2 separate regions of the Homo sapiens genome follow, and region 2 is linked to region 1. The links are contacts of gene promoters, found by promoter capture Hi-C in human tissues and cell types (Jung and others, 2019). All regions are on one chromosome and are shown on one strand. The core of a region is centred on a gene start or on the middle of the fragment in contact, and the rest is flanking DNA. Distances in the headings are between cores, read along the strand shown.

Region 1 (2,700 bases), core at 65-2,564:
CTGTGAGGTAATGTAACAATGTATACATTACTTCAAACGATCATGTTGTATACACAATAAATGCAGACAATAAACAATTTTTAAAAAGATATTTTTCTAAGGAAATAGAAATTATCGAAATAGGTAATCTACTCAATTAACCTAAATTGTAAAACATTATAAAACACAGAGAACTGTTATAATTCATTCTCATCTATTCATTTAACTTAGGTTAGCTTAGTTTTCAATCACTACATATTCTTAAACGGAGTGAAATTAGTCACATTCCATTTATCTTCCAAATTTATCAACGTTTATTAAGATTTATTTCAAGAATAATTTGTACAGGGCCTAATTAAATTATGAACCAAGAAAGTTAGTCTTAAATGACCCCTCAATCCCTTTTCCCTGCACTTTGCTCTCTTAATCTCCTCGCCCATCAAAACTGCTTCAAGAAAAAGTTCTGATAAATTTCTTGTACTAAGGGTAAGTAAGAATGGTAAATTCCCGTGTTAAGTTCCCGCCCTTTTTGGAACGAGGCATTTTGGAACAGAAAGTGTTTTCTGGTGCCCTGAAGTCACACGATAAACCTACTTGCCTATGGGTAATCCTGTGAAGTGAATAAAGCGTCCAGGACATGCATTTAAATACGCAATTTATTTTAGTTATATAAATGGCGTTGGTTTAGGTGCAGGGTACAAACTTATTTAGAAATCATCGATTTGTTAACTGCGTTTGGCATGGGAATTTGGAAAGAGTTCGCCCGGGTTAAGACACCAATGGATAAAACACTTGTCAATCCAGGAGAAAAGGCATCTCAAGAATGGAAAGACTTGCTGGCCCAGGCTCCCTCGGGGAGCTCTAGGTGTAGAAAATGCGCGCTCTCCGTTACTTCTCGGTTACTTTGCCCAGCACAAAGGACGACGCGAATACCAACAGACTGGACGAGTCGGTGACTACAGTTTGCATTAAGAGGCGGCGCCTTTTGGGTTTCGGAGGGTTCCACTGGAACCCACGAGGGTCAGGAACACCGACGCGCGGATTCCGCCCACCAGACAGCCTGGGGAAGCGAGCCTGAAGGCGCGGCGCAGCTAGAGAGAAGAACCTCGGCAGACATGCCGCCCAGAGGCAGCTAAGGGGCCCGTGGGCAGGGCCTGCGCTCCGGCTGCGATGCAGGCCGGCTAGAGGCCGGCGCCGAGGACCCGGCGCGCGGCGGCCCCGCCCCCTCGGCTCCCCTCGCCCCGCCCCCTAGGCCCGCCCCTTCCCGGGCCGCGCACCCGCGCGCCCCGCCCGCGGGCGGAAGCTGGAGCGAGGCTGAACGCCTGACGTCAAGGCGACATCGCCAAACCTCGCCCAGATTCAGGCGTGTAAACCAGCCGGAGCGGCGCGGCAGCGGCAGGACCGCCGTGGCGCCTAGAGTAGCGACCCGGGGGGAGCGCGGGGCGACGCTGGCTGCAGGGACCCGGTGACAGCGTGAGAGGTTCGCAGAGTGAGTGCGTGGCCGCTGAGGGAAGCCGCGGCGGCGGCCGCGCGGGGCCGGGCGCCGGCTGAGGGGAGCGGGTGGGGTGCGGCGAGGCGCGGGCCGGGCGCGGCGGTCAGGGGCCCCGGCGGCGGCAGCCCCTCGGCGCGCGGCAGGTGGCGCGAGGGCCAGGCGCCGGGCCCGCGAGCGCGCTGCCTTGCGGGCCGGCGAGGAGGAGCAGCCGCCGCCGCCGCGGGAGAACAGCGCGCTTTGCGGAAGGGGTCAAATGTCTGAAATATGGCGGAGGAAGTGAGAGCCCGAGGACCCCCCCACCCGCCCGCTCTCTTCAGCCCGCGTCCGCCGCAGCTTCTCCCGCCGCCCTCCTTTCCCCGCCGGCTCCCCCGAAGACTCGCTCCCCGCCCCGAGCCCCCTCGCTTGTCGCCTGGGTTCCCTCCGTGGTATGGGTGGAAGTTAGAACGGAAACCAGAAAGTTGTCCTTTGCGAAGACCTAGCTTCTCCCAGCCCCGAGCTAGGGCGAGGAGCCTTCGGGGGAAACCACTCCCAGGCGCCCCGCGGGCTTGAGCCTGACAGCGAAAAAGTTTGCCTGAAACGGGGCTTGCTTGCTCCATTTGTTGCGGGAAGTGGCAGGAGGAAGGCAGCGGAGAGAGCCCCACTTAGTCTGGCAGCAGCCACCGTGTAGAGAAAAACTGTTAAAGGGGCCTTTCCCTTCGTCAGCAAGAGGAAATCTCTTTCTCTTAGAGGGAGAGAAAATCCAGGAAGTTTGTCCTCTTCTCTTTTTCGCCATCTCGAGGTGTCTAATCCTAAAACTATCAGCGCCATGAATTTTATTTAAAACTACGCCCAGTGAACCGGGCTCTCCGGATTTTTCTTCTGAAAAACACTGATGTCTTTTGGAGAAAAGATCATTTTTGCAAGTTAAAGCAGATGGTTTCCTTCCCCTTCGCTTTCCCCCCTCTCCCACTCTCTTTAATAGTTTAGAAAAACATTTTGGCCCTGTAACTTCTGATTGGTATGAATAGAAGCAGTTCTGTGTTGCAGTAAGGGGAAATCACATTTTTACGGGGTAGAAAGTTGACACTAAATGAAGATTGTGATTTTAGTATTTTAAAATTAATTCCGTCTAATTGGATTTTGGTTTTGCAGGCAGCATCTCATATATGTCGAGTACTTAACAATTTAAAGCTCTGACTTGTAAATTTATTTTTCAGCTCTCTTTTTTCGTAATTAGAATACTGTTTGGA
Region 2 (2,700 bases), core at 44-2,543, 170 kb before region 1:
ATTGCACATTGCCGAACGTGTCTCAAGGCACTTTCAGGTGGATCGGATAATGGGTGGAACCACCACATACTTTTCAACCATGAACAATGATTCAGGGGCCAGGATTTAGAAACCATGGGCAGCTATGTAATTGCATAGTGTTAGAAACAAGAGAGGTGAGTGGTGTGGAATATAGGTTTAAAAGAAAAGGAAGGTTCTGAGTGTATACTCAAAATAATTGAAAGCAGGGTCTCAAGGAGATATTTGTATACCCGTGTTCATAGCAGCACTATTCACAACAGCGAAAAGGTGGAAGCAGCCCAAGTGTCAATTGACAAATGAATGGAAAAGCAAATGTGATATATATGTACAATGAAATATTACTCACCCTTAAAAAGGAAGGAGATTTTGACATGATACATGCTACAACATGGATGAAACTGGAGGACATTAAGCTAACTGAAATAAGCAAATCACAAAAAGATACTGTATGATTCCACTGATGTGAGGTACCTGGAATAGTCAAATTCATAGAGACAGAAAGTAGAATAGTGGTAGCCAAGAGCTGGACAGTTATCGTTAATGAGCACAGAGTTTCAGTTGGGAAAAATGAAAAATTTCTGGAGGGGGATGACAGCAATGGGTAACAGCAATGTAAATGTAATTAATGCCACAGAACTGCACACTTAAAAATGATTACAATGGTAAATGTTATGAGTATTTTACCACAATAAAAAAAAATTTTTAAGGAAAAAAAAAAGAAAAAGAACTTGAATGTAACATCCCCACTTCACAAACTTAGCACCCCCGTCTTCCACTACCACCACAACCACCACCCACAAAGTCCTCTAAAAGTCTGCTTATTAAGGGGAAAAGAAGGAATCAAAATTGGGAAAGAGCCTTCCAAACTCTTCCAAGATCTGAGCAGCTTCTTTTAGTCATTCTGTTCTCTTTTTTATTTTTCACAATAAATATGGAGTGCTTTTTGTTTTTTGTTTTTTAGACAGAGTCTTGCTGTGTTGCCCAGGCTGGACTGCAGTGGCACGATCTTGGCTCACTGCAGCCTCCACTTCCCAGGTGCAAGTGATTCTCCTGCCCTAGCCTCCCAAGTAGCTGGGATTACAGGCGTACCATCAGATCCAGCCAATTTTTGTATTTTTAGTAAATATGGGGTTTCACCATGTTTGTCAGGCTGGTCTCGAACTCCTGGCCTCAGGCAATCTGCCTGCCTTGGCCTCCCAAAATGCTGGGATTACAGACATGAGCCACTGCACCTGGCCAATAAATATGTATTATATTTGTAATCAGGGGGAGGACAAGGAAAGAATATTATGGCAAAGGAAGAAGTGGCATAAATTCGTCTTCATCTCTGGCCTGAGGTCAAGGCAATTCTTCCCTCAGCCTCACGAGGCTTGAGTTTTTGCTCAGAAGCATGAAATATCATTACCTTTACCTTTCATAGCCCCAGTTTAGGATAAACTCTGGGTCAGCAGTTACATGACTGACCTGAAATGATTTCACTCTGCGGCTGGCAGCGCCAGACTCAGGAGTGACAAACTGAAGTAAATGACTGTGTGAGCAGCTTCTGGTGAGACCAAATAGAAGAACTGCAGCAGATAACTTACTCTTTTTCATTGTTTCTGATTAGATCTTTTCACATTTTGCTTTTGTTTTTGTTTTTTTCTTGGAAAAGACAAGGGTGTCTCATGGAGGCTTTAGGGAAATGGCTGAATTTTAAGGAAATCGAATTGGCTCCCATGATTATCTCAAAGGAGCTGTGGTCGTAAAAGTTAATTAAATTAGATTCATTTGCATATTCAAGACCATTCCCTTCCTTCACTTTAAAGGCAGAGAAAGAAAATGTGTCCCAGCCTCCTCACTGGGATTATGACACACAACATGTCCAGATCACTCTGTTTGTATGCTGGAACTTAGTCGGACTAGCAGGCTATTTTTTAAATCCTTTTTCCTAGCTTGTATTCTCCACATTTTAAGGTAAGTGTCAATACAAACGTTAAATTAGTATGCATTGCAGTTCTTGCTTTGAAATATAGAATAAATCCTTTAGAGAAAGAGATTGCCGTGCTTAAAGACTGAGGTAATTTTCTAAACAAAAGGTGAATTCAGAACACTAAGTAGAAGATGAACTAGCAACATTTACAGCCACAAGACTGTGTAGAAGCATTTTGCATTTGTGTATGTATTGGCAACAACGGCATCTATAGCTTTATTTATTATGGGTCAGAGGAACGGAACGATTGGACCCTAAGAGGATGTCTAGTCTACCCTGCTGCCTGGAGTAGGCCTAAAATAACCGGCTAAAATGGAACTCTGGCCTGTTTTCTGAAGCCGCTAGGGAAGGTGTTTCCACAACCTTCCTCTGTTATGTGACCCATTTTTAACAATCTTTAATATCATACCAGAAAACATTGCCTTATATCCAACCTATATCCCCTCTGCTATTGATTTACTGTTTACTCTCACATGCATACAATGCAAATGTGAGCAGTCGCACTCAGCCCCTCCACCCTGCTCATTTGCATATTTCTTTGGAGTATCAACTAATGCCTACAGATTAAAGGGAGTGTCTACCCTACTTCCTTCAGCCACACATGCCTGTTAATACAAGTAAGGCTATATCATTATCTTCATTCTTCCATAAGAAGACAGGGTTAATTTATTTTTTTTCTTTAATGAACACAAATGTGCCAGACAGACCCT

The links. Contacts are between HindIII fragments. The study calls those that stand out against the background at their distance.
Region 2: a contact is called between a fragment that was not itself captured here and the fragment with the promoter of RAP1B in region 1, in 1 of the 25 tissues and cell types used here (H1 embryonic stem cells).

Annotation. Positions count from the first base shown.
Region 1 is chr12:68,609,585-68,612,284 of GRCh38, forward strand. It overlaps RAP1B (RAP1B, member of RAS oncogene family), which reads left to right and starts at 1,315. Exons shown (of 8, transcript NM_001010942.3): 1 at 1,315-1,459. RefSeq lists a silencer at 1,172-1,631. The HindIII fragment of the contact is 12,288 bases long and covers 1-2,700 here.
Region 2 is chr12:68,437,048-68,439,747 of GRCh38, forward strand. The region is part of intron 2 of LINC02384 (long intergenic non-protein coding RNA 2384); the gene reads right to left. Among named protein-coding and RNA genes, the nearest start is that of LINC02384, 13 kb to the right of the region's middle. The HindIII fragment of the contact is 5,738 bases long and covers 1-2,700 here.